Linked DNA regions of Homo sapiens: region 2 is linked to region 1. The links are contacts of gene promoters, found by promoter capture Hi-C in human tissues and cell types (Jung and others, 2019). All regions are on one chromosome and are shown on one strand. Each heading gives the region's core, a stretch centred on a gene start or on the middle of the fragment in contact. The rest is flanking DNA. Distances are from core to core; before and after follow the strand shown.

The links. Contacts are between HindIII fragments. The study calls those that stand out against the background at their distance.
Region 2: a fragment that was not itself captured here is called in contact with the fragment with the promoter of FSTL5 in region 1 in 2 of the 25 tissues and cell types used here (H1 embryonic stem cells and dorsolateral prefrontal cortex).

Annotation. Positions count from the first base shown.
Region 1 is chr4:162,162,494-162,168,380 of GRCh38, forward strand. FSTL5 (follistatin like 5) reads right to left here and starts at 1,507. Exons shown (of 16, transcript NM_020116.5): 1 at 1,122-1,507. RefSeq lists an enhancer at 1,661-1,770. The HindIII fragment of the contact is 23,396 bases long and covers 1-5,887 here.
Region 2 is chr4:161,335,826-161,341,882 of GRCh38, forward strand. No RefSeq gene overlaps it. Among named protein-coding and RNA genes, the nearest start is that of FSTL5-AS1, 680 kb to the right of the region's middle. The HindIII fragment of the contact is 5,240 bases long and covers 1-4,839 here.

The DNA of each region.
Region 1 (5,887 bases), core at 257-2,756:
GTTACTAAATGACATAAATGAGAGACCACAATTCCATTTATCAGGCAAACCATCACACCTGTCAAAGTCATGAATAGTAATAAGAAATACAAAGAGCACAGGATAACTTCTATCATTTAATAATTGCTCACTATGAGAAGTATTGTTCAGTCGTTTTCCACACTGAATTCTTTCTCTGTACACACTCAGAACACACTGCCAATTGATAAAAGGAACATAGCTTCAAAAGAAAATTCTTCTAAGTAAAGAAAAGCTCTCTGTTAAGCATGCAAGAGGTTAAACATTGCTGAAATAGTGAGACATTTTCTCAGCCCACACTTCCCAGTTCCATTCAATTACCAACAGCACAAGCGACTATAATACAAGCGAATACTGTATTATTAAATCAGAACTTCCCATTTACATCCACCTCTAACCTGAGGGGGTTGCAAGGGGATGACATTTGCTAGTCAACAGCAGAACAAACAGCCCCCAACTTGGAAATACACATGACCTTGGGGTGTGGAATGCTCAGAGACTGAGTTTCACAAGTTTTATTTGGATCTACTGCATAACAACACATCTAAATGGACCCAGCATGATGTAAATGTTTCTATACCTACCTCCTCCCTTCCAAAAAATGTTAAGAGAGCTCTGCACTTTGAAGTCTATGCTTTAGATATAGGAATAATATTGATGATTAACCAGAGACTAGTCCATTCAAATAATTATTTGATTATATTTGTTCTAAACAACTTGTTGGTTGATTTATTTAACATCATTTGCTAATATATTTGGGGGGTTTCCTGGAATGGTTCCTATCCTTTGAACCCTGCTGAAAGTATTGCTCTAAAATATTTATATTTATAAAGCAAGATATAACATAATGACATCAACTTCACAAAAAGCAAAGCTCTCAACTTCCCCTCTAGAATTTAGTGCATAATCACTAACAGATTGTCTTGTAATAATAATAATAATAATAATAATAATAATAGTAATTATTAAAATATTTTTGTAATCATTGCCAAAAGTCCAGTTTCAAATTATAAAAATAAGCATAACTTGTTTTTAAATTTTTGTATGGCAGTCTGTATTTCTCCCCCACTTGTAATCATTTATAACAATATTATTTTTCTTACCTTATTTTAACAGTCACAAAAGTCCCCCAGAAAGATTCCTAAACGCTGTGGAAATATAAATCACAATAAAAAAAAAAAACTCTCAAAAGATCGTCTTAGCTGGGGAAAAAAAAATAGTTTGGTCTAAAACTATAGAAATCTCCAAAGTCACGCCTGAATGAGCGCCCAGGTGGCAAACAGAGGACTCTCTCCCACGTCCGATACCACACTCCTTTGTCAAGTTGATATGGGTCCTGTTGGTGAAGCGGGTCCCACAGGGCACAGAGGGTGCAAGAGGGCGTTGCCTTCAGGTGCTGGAGCAACTGGTCCGCTCGCGTCTCAGGTTCAGCACCGACAGCACAGTGGACAGTACCAGCTCCTTTCACCTCCAGTTTGTCTCAGTCACTGAACCAGGCTGATTCTCGCTCCTCCTCCCTAGGCAGGAGCTGCTGCCACTCAACCCGGGGGTGCCCCGCCCCCACCATCTGACGTAACTATTTTGCATATCAACTCGCCGAGAGGTGAGGGGCCGCCCCCTTGACTGGGCTTCTGCTAGAGTCAGCTGCGGCAATCGGGGCAACAAAATTCAGGCTTAACGTCAGCGTGGGCATCTTTGGACTTCAGGATGTATTCTCAACCAGTCCAGTAGAAACTAAACGCTTTGACGGTGCTGGAGCCTTTGCCTTCGCGGGGACTGCCGTTTCTGCGCACTCTAAGATCGCTGCGGGCACAGCTCTGGAAGGAAGACGGGGCGGAGAGAGGGGGCAGTGGAGCACGGAGAGGACCGAGTGGGAGGCGGGTGGGGAGGAGACGGAGAAATAGAATGAATCTATTCAACCATTCTTGAAAACATCTCCAATCCTTTTCATCTTCCTGCCCAAACTTTGCTGCCTCTCCCTGCCATTTGGTTATTTGAACGGATCCGTATTTGGTGTTCCTACTCCCTTCCCTCGGTTCACGGAGCCTCTGGAGGGAGTCGCTGCTGCAGAAACTTGCCTGGAAGAAAAAAAAAAAAATTCTGAGCACTGAGAGAAAACGTGAAAGCTTGCAGCGCTAACCATCATTTCTAAACAGAATCTTAAGGAAAAAAAATACGAGTGCTCCATAGTATATATTATACTTCATATGCGTTCCTATAAAACCTACAGAACCTTCCTTATTCATTCTCATGATTTAAACAAATCCTCAAACTGTATAGACTTGGAGATTCCAGAGGGAAAAAAATTAAATAATAAAAAGTGAAAGTTATCAGCTTCAACTTCCACTGCCAAAATTATGAAGGTTATGCAATATTTATTATGTCTACTATATCAATATTTCTATGAAAGATGGGCTATGCTGGAAGCTTTACATAGCCTTTAGCAATTCTCTCAGTATTTGTGATATTTCTTGTCCCAGTGAAGCTCTAGCCTCCTTGAAGGCAAGAGAAAGGGGGCCTGTCATGCCAAATTCCACAGACTGCTTAAACTTGTAAACAAACACTTTCAGTGAACTGAAGCAATCAATCATCCAGAAGGGTGATTATTCACATTCCATGCACATGTCCCACCTACAGCTATCATGACTTACTTGGACAGAGAAGTGGGTATCTAAAACTAAGCTTAAATTTTCTTAAGTTGGATAAAGCATGTTTAATAAAAAAGGTTGTTTATTCAAATAATGTCATAGCATTTCACACATTGCTTTCCATCAGAATGCATACACACTGATATGTGTCATCATATGCCAGGAGTCTGATATCATCTAGCACTGGATCCACTCACAAGCATTTTTCAGGGACTCTAATCAAAGGAATACACTTACTTATTTCCCCATCAGGAAAAATAATGCATTTTATTTTCTCTAATATTAAGAAGTTATTTGAGGAAGTCTATTTACTTTGTGGACCCATACCCCCAAACTGCTTCTTTCTAGTTACTTAAAAAAGAAGAAATAACAGAGGAAAAAACTATGGTGTTTTTGCTTGAGGGAAGGAACATTTTTTTATTCTGATTCACACCCACATAAAACTTTCTCTATGGCTTTATTCCAGAAATTGCCCATTTCTTTTCTGAACGTACAATCCCCAGTACTATTTCTCCAACACACCTTGACTACAAGTTTTGCATTTTGGGTAATCTGCAATGTTTTTGTTTTCTCAGACAACTACTGATTTTGCATTTGTAAGTGTCAAGTGCCATGACTTTTTGCACAGATATACCCATACATGCATGTATTATGAGTTCTTCAATTCCCAAAGTCATTTTAATAAAGGTGGCAGACACCATGATATGTCAGGAAAGATGATCTGTGGGGGCAGATGGGTGTTGCACAATTACAATTACAATGGAGCCAACTGTATAACTTGAACTTAGGCTGGCTACGGCGCACATGATATGCTTCTTTTGGGAACATCGCATAGCACACTTTGGTCTGCTTCATGCCAATGTGCTGAAATGTCAGAGAAATCTTGATAGTTCACTTTAGCAATATAGAGAGTACATGATGTATGCTTATAAAATTCCACCAAGACCTATGTTGTTTGTATAATGGACATAATTTTTCAGTTTACTCCAGTGATCATAATGTTTTGGACTATGAATTCAATTAAAGCAGTCATAATATTATTGAAAAACCTGAGGGAATAAAACTAGAAAACAAACCTTCCTTTGAAAGATGGAAAGGAAAGCCAAATCATTTTCTCATTTTTTCACTGTCTTTAAAAAGAGGGACAGAAGAAAGAAAGAAAGAAAAGAAAAAAAAAGGAAAAGAGCTATTTTGGGAAGCATGAACAAAGATGAATACATGCAGAAAAGCATTGAGAATATCCTCCTAGCGGATTCTTGGTTTTGTACTGTCCTAAATGGCAATGTGACTGAGGGCAAGTTATTTAAACCTTTTCATCACACACATCATTTGTAAAATATATAGGTTATCCTGTTATCTCCAAAATTCATTACATGCTTGTCATTCTGTAATTTTATATTAGACTTCAACCTATTTTATATATATATATAATTTGGAATCACTATAAAAAGGTTAAAAAGAAAGAGCATATATATAAAAATATATAATAGAAAGAAAGAGCATATATAAATACAAACAGCATATACACAAAAAAGAGCATATATATATATATATATATATATATATATATATATATATATATGGCATCTTCTTTACTTCCATTACTTTCTTACTTTCTATCTCTTGCTCCCTTGGGCCCTTTTGTGCTCTCCACATATGTTTTATTTCATTGTAATGTTCTATTTAAAATGTCTATTAGGTATATGTCTACTGTGGTAAAGGGCATTTAAATACAGTATTTTGTTATTGAAAGAAATATTGACACAATATATTTATATTAAATTTCTTAGCTAATTCCAAATTGTGACCTTAAACAAATTTATATGTGTGCATGTGTGTGTGTGTGTGTGTGTGTGTTTATGTGGGTAGGATATACTAAAGAGAATTTTCAAATATGTTTTCTTAAAATTATGGAAATAAAATTTAAGATATATGAATTAAAAACTCACTACTAATAAATAAACCCGCAAATTAAAGAACACTATTTCATTATGCACACACACGTATTTTATCTAAGCAGCAATTACAATTTTCATGAGATTATATCAGTTTAATTTTAAATCTCAATTAGTTTCATTGGAATTATTTGAAATCTCAATATATGTTAAAATTGAGATTATGTTGTTTTTCATTTTCTCTATTATATATCATAGCATAGGCATTTTGGTGGCTTTGGATAAGATTGTTAAATTTAATCAAGACTACTGTGAAAGGTCTTTTCTTGCTAGTATTTACATTAACACACAGAAAGATACACTAAGAGAGACAATTTTTATCATTTGTAATTATAAATCCACCATCAAAATGGCACATTTCATAAAGGAGTGGCGGACTTTTTCAGAAATACTGGCTAAAAGCTGACTATAACTTTTTGCTATTCTACCCCTCAAATTATCAGATTAATGCACATATAAACTTTAATTCTCACTGTGTAAACAGGCTTCTTAAATTCTACAAGAACCTGGATAAATGTATAGTATGAATAAAAGTTATAGGTTTAAGAAATTGTTTGATATCAATATTTATTGAGGTAATATTAATTGGAGAAAGACAGAACATGGTTTAATAAATGCTGCTTAACTGGAAAGCTGAAACCTACCACATTTAATACAGAAACCTAGGTTTGGCCTTAAATAAAAGATTTGCTCATTGTCATCAATAATTTGGGGTCAAAATGAACTCAGAATTATAGTAACTGGCCACTTAAAGAACCACTGCATAATCAAAGGATGTACCATGAATGCTGAGGGTGCAAAGCCAAATAAACCTATTTTATTCTCCATGATAAATATAGATTATTAATGTTATAAGTTTCATCTTCTCAATTGAAGGGAATTAAAACCCGCTCTTTATATAGCCACATCATGGGGAATGAACATTAACATACAGATTTAGCAGACTCAGGTTTGTGTTAACTATTCTAGTTTTTATGCATTTTCGTATTTTTTTTATTTAGTTGTCAACTTCACAGACACCCTCATCCTGCTTTCCAAGTAATACTGCTATGAGTTTCCCCCTAAAGCTGTATTTTGCCTTTCTGTTTTGGCTTGGTAAAAATGTTTGATTTTCCCACACTAGTAAACAATGGGAATTAACTTTCAATAAGAGCAAGCATCTATCAACGTGTCAATGCACAGAGTTTTCGAGCTCATATGAATGGATTCAAAAAATATTGCTCTATAAAAGTATAGATTGAAATGATGAATTGATTTAAAAATTTA
Region 2 (6,057 bases), core at 970-3,469, 830 kb before region 1:
CAGGTGTCCTAACCTTACTAATTTAGACCTGATGAATTACTGCAACTGGACTCTGTCACTGAAGAAATAAAACACCTTCCTAAATATCAACGATCTCCTATCAAAGATTCTGGCAATGGGGTCAACTGAACATCTGGAGGAGGGGGCATGGGATGCAACACTGGGGCTATTTTGTCCATGAAAGCAAGAGTCTTCTCCTCTGCCATACTCATCCCCAACTCTGCATAGACTGTTTAATTACATTCATGGACTCTGTCCACCAGGAGAGACTTCCAGTTGGTTGAGTCCCAGAGCAGTCAGTGATTCTTACACTCAATTCCCTATGTATTTCTTCTAAACATGTTGGTTAGCCTATTGTTCCCCCTCTTGTTATTCACCACCTTGGGCAGCTGCCACATTGCGGCCAGCTTGTTAGCACTAGAAAAGTCTCAGACAGTTTAAATAAAGCCAGCTTTGTGAATTGAGTTTCCAGAGAACACTAGACACATAAAATAGTTTTTAAAATCTCTTAAAATGCGGTTTTGAAGGGGCTCTAATCCAATTTTATAACCTCTAGTGGATGCCAGGTGACTGGCTTTTACTGTGCTTGTGATCCATTGATTTCTTTCAAAGTAACCAGAGGTGAGAAGGGGAAGTTGGGATGAGGATAAGTTAAAACATCACAAAGCTAGTTGTTCTTTTTTTAATTCAGCTTTTTTTTTTTAATTGAATACATGCTCACCAGATTGCTGAAAGTTTTTGGCAAATTTCCAGAGATCTGAAAAAATTGATTTTCATTTTTTTTATTTTTTTTGACCAGTTTCCTTGTTGTTTTTATGAATAAGAAAATATCACGCCTGGCGTAGTGGCTCAGGCTTGTTATCCCAAAATTTTGGGAGGCTGAGTTGGGTAAATCACTTGCGTCCAGGAGTTCGAGAACCGCCTGAGCAAGATGGTAAAACCCTTTCTCTACAAAAAATACAAAAATTAGCTGGGCATGATGGTGCAAGTCTATAATTCCAGCTACTCAGGAAGCTGAGGTGGGAGGATCACCTGAGGTCAAGGCTGTAGTGAGCTGTGATGGTGCCACTGCACTCCAGCTTGGGTGACTAAGTGAGACTCTGTCTCAAAAAATAAATAAAATAAAATAAAATAAAATAAAGCTTTGGGCCAAGCTTGAGGATTGCAGTCAGGGACCATAGATTCAAGTTGCCATGAATATACACTCTGATCAGTGGCAGTTACAAGTAGAATTTTCAAGAAATAAAAGGCAGTTCCTGAGTTGTTTACCAATAATATATTTAAGAAGGCCTGTAATATATTTAAGGCCTTCTTTGGGATCCTGGCATTTATCTCATTACTTAAATAAATATATGTATTTTAAGTTGATATTTGGAAGATATTTATCTATACTATCTACATACTAAATATTGATATATATATATATATATCGATATATATCTTCTAAATATCCACTTTTAATTAAGCTGACCTCTGGTCATAGTGCTCTAAAAAGAAATCATTTCAAATCTCAACTTACTGGATTTCAGCCAGGACAAACAGGAAGTAGGTCTGTCATTTAGTTATCCTGGTTCTAAAACAGCTTTTTTTATTTCAATTACGCATGCAAATGAATTATTTTAAATATTTCAAAGAATCCCTATTTTGGCTACTACTGATTGTGACTGTCCAGGTTAAGCAGGGCCACTTTCCTAGATATTTACAAGAGATTGCCTTATAAGTGGTATATATAAATCCATCTGATGTTTCTACAAAGAGTGTTCAGATTTTAAGGCTTGATTTTTCCATAATTTAGGGAAAGTAATCAAGGCTGGGAATGTATTTTGGGTTGAAGTGTGACATGTCTCAGACTGTCTCTAACTGCCAAGTGGTAGCAGAGTGCTCAAGGTATGAGGGATAAGACCCCAATATTATACGTGTCTAGAAGAGCAAAAAACAAGGTACACATTTCATTTACGAACTAACAGGAATGGGTCACAAATTAAAGACTAAGTCTGAATTTTCCAGCTATAGAAGACAGCTGTAGTCCTAAAAAAATGTTGTATAAAATAAAACCAACAGTGCCTAATTGCCAGTCCTTTGACTTGAACCTCTGCTGTGAGACCAAGGTGGAAACAGAGGCAGTTCTCTGAGGAGATCTTTACCTCATTCTCCTGTTCAAAGACAGAGACTGAAGCCCTCACTCTTAAAGGAAATACAGGGTTGGAAAAACAGTCCAAATAAAGTCTAGACCTTCAACCAAAGAGTGGGAGGTCCAAATTCAGGATAACTCACCCAAAACAACCCATGAGACTTCTGAGGACAGAGAATTCCTGCTGGTACCAAGCCCCAACTTCAGAGAAACACAAGGTTTTCAGGAGGAGTCTCTGTGAATCCTGTTGACTTACGCCAGATAATCCTGTTGACCTAAATGGGGGAGGCTGAGGCAAAATTAATATAAGTGGAGAGTTTTCTTTTTGTTTTGTTTTGTTTTTTGTTTTTTTGGTTTTTTTCTTTTTGAGATGGAGTCTTGCCCTGTTACCCAGGCTTGAGTGCTATGGTGCGATCTTGGCTCACTGCAACCTCCATCTCCTGGGTTCAAATGATTCTCCTGCCTCAGCCTCCCGAGTAGCTGGGATTACAGGTGTCTGCCACCACGCTTAGCTAATTTTTGTATTTTTAGAAGAGATGGGGTTTCGCCATGTTGGCCAGGCTGGTCTCGAACTCCTGACCTGGTGATCCGCCCACCTTGGCCTCCCAAAGAGGTGGGATTACAGGCGTGAGCCACCACACCTGGAAAGTAGAGAGTTTCCATGAGACAATCTTGAGAATTGCAACCAGGGATCCTAGATTCAAGTTGCCCTGAATATACACTCTAATTAGTTGCAGTTATAAGCAGATTTTTAAAGGCAGAGACAAGGCAGTTCCTGAGTTGTTTAACAAGAATTTACATTAAAATAACATAAGCTATTGATTGACTCTACATTCTTTTTATCACAAATTCCAGCACCATGAAGATAATGGGTGAGGCAGCTAGTCAGGAACAAAATGACTTTAAACAATTGCCCATGGCATGGGTACCAGGAGCATGATTATAGTCTCATACTGATGTCTCTCTGGGCCTGCCTGCAGACCTCATATAGCCCAGACAATTCTGCCCATTTTTTTTTCTCTGTAATCAAACTGATGTTTTATGTGAGTCCACATGTCTTAGGCACTGTATCTCAGTTGGTCCAGGATATAGCCAAGAAATATGAGTGTCATTCACTAGCATCCACATGTCTGAACAGTATGTATGAAAAACACTATAAAAATTTTTCAGACTTAAGGCAAGAATCTCTACACTTCAAAAGGTTTAGTTGCAAACAAATTAACAAGAGCTCATTGAGAGTTCCCCTCTTTAGTATATATCAAATGCGATCTATATTTTATATTTAATTCAAATTCTTCCTCATAAGCAGACTACTTACGAAGAGATTTTGGTAAACACTCATCTGTAGACTATCTGACAATACACTGTATCTGTATTAAAAATTAAATGGTTTTATTAAATGTTTATTTAGCTTTATGATAGATGGCATAGCTTCCCAAAAAGAGAAATGCATCTTCCAAAGAATGAATGATATGATTTGAATGTGTGTCCCCTCCAGATCTCATGCTGAAATGTGACCCCTCAATGTTGGGAAAGGGGCCTACTGGGAGGTCTGCAGGTCATCCAGGTGGATCTCTCATGAATGGCTTGCTGCCATCCCCTTGGTGATGAGGGTGTTCTCACTCTATTCATTCACATGAGAGCTGGTTGTTTAAAAGAGCATGGCCTTTCTCCCTCTACTTCCTGTCCCCTCTCACCATGTGACATGCTTGCTCCCCCTTTGTCTTCTGCCATGACTGGAAGCTTTCTGAGGCCTTAGCAGAAGCAGATGGTGGTATCATGCTTCCTGTACAGTCTGTGGAACCATAAACCAACTAAATCTCTTTTCTTGATATATTACCGAGTCTCAGGTAATTCCTTTATAGCAACATATAATGGACTAGTACAATGAAGCCTAAATTTTTAAAATTTCTCAGCATGTTAATTCATAGAAAATGAAAACACATCCAAGTTGTCAAACTGAAATAATAAAAAGGGTCAGAATCTAGTTTTAAAGAGTTAATTCAAGCAAAACCTGGGAATGGCTACCTGGGAGATAAAAACTCCAGTAAAATGGGGTCAGTGCCCAAAAGTTAAAAGTTAAGTTATTGCTTATATCGGCAGAAAACAAAGAAGTTTAACAGGACTACATGATTTCCTAGCCATGGCTGGTTTAAAAGTTGCAACAAATTAGTTACAGTTCATTTTCTGTTCTCTACCACTTGTTTTCCTTTCTTTACAGCTGGTTGTCATTCTCTTTCCAGTTTAAAGAATGTATTTAACAGTTCACCTTAAGACAATGTGATAGCCATGAAGTCTTCCTGTGAGAAACGTTAAGAGGGAGATTAATCTGTTATGAAGGTAAAAAATGTAGAAGGAAGGGGGCCTTCCCTGGTGCCCTTCAGTCATTTACATCTTACAAGATGATACAGATAAGGGAGAAAGATTAATCTGTAATCAGACAAAGTTTACAGCTTCCTTGGTTATAGAGGTCTATTATGAGACTTTAAGGCTCAAAAAATTTAGAGTTTCAATAGCCAAGACTTTTAGTTACTTACTTTCATAAGATAACATTTATTGATTGGGGATATAAAATATATTAAAGTATGATCTAACATCAACAGCAGGATAAACTAGAGGATAACTACTTTTGGTTGTAAATGTTTTTGTCACTTAAAAATAATTACCCCGGGCCGGGCGAGGTGGCTTCCACTTGTAACACCAGAACTTTGGGAGGCCAAGGCAGACAGATCATGAGGTCAGGAGATCGAGACCATCCTGGCCAACATGGTGAAACCCCGTCTCTACTAAAAATACAAAAATTAGCTGGGCGTGGTGGTGGGCACCTGTAATCCCAGCTACTGAGGAGGCTGAGGCACGAGAATTGCTTGAACCCAGGAGGTGGAGGTTGCAGTGAGCCGAGATTGCCCAACTGCACTCCAGCCTGGCGACAGAGCAAGACTTGGTTTCAATAATAATAATAATAATAACTACCCTGGAAAATTTCCTTCTGAAATTCTTTTTTAATTTATAAATTGGAAAAACACTTATTTTATAAGGTGATTATGCTTATTAAATGCAATAACATATAAAATGTAAGACATAATAAACATCAGTTGCCTTCCTGCTTACTAGAGAAACTAAATAAGTACTTTATTGTAAATTATTTATTTTAAATATGGTTTAATGTGTTTAGTAAAACCACTTGACTAATTTGTTATAGTTGTGGCTTATCATATTTGTAAGCCATATGTTCATTCCAAATATACGTGATAGTGAACAGGAATGTTCTGTTTTGTTTTGTTTTTCTTCATGATCCTGGAGTCGACCATCAATGAAAAATATTAAGAAATATTATTTTTTTCTAATAAGAACTTGGCAGTGCTTGAAAACAGGGTTTATATTATGTATAACATTCTTATCTATTATATAATATTTATTAAACATAACATCCGTTCCACATTCAAACTTTAATTAACAGAAATAATCAGAGGTACAATTGGTGGGTTGTCTCTTGAATAGGAATGTCATGTAAATATTCGTCCTAGAGTTTAACAGAATCTTCAGGAATTAATAATACCTGAGAAATGTCTTCTCAACAAATTTCATACATTTGATTTTTCTGACGTCTTGGCTGAATACTCACATGTAGGTAGATGGTTAATTACCTCACTATAGGCATTGTCAGATGAAAGCTTCTTTGTGAGTGCTTAGAATTTTAATACTGATCTATTCCTTCTCTACAGTGTAAGTTAAAACTTTCTTCTTTCTTAACTCTCTCATATCTTCATGTATTTTAGATAACTCAATAAAAATTACTTGAATAGTTAACATTTATTGGGCACTTACTATATACCATTATTGCTATAAGGATATAGATGTTTATTAAATATTTATAATATCACATTCAGTTGGATGCTATTAAATTCCAAAGCTCATGAATAAGA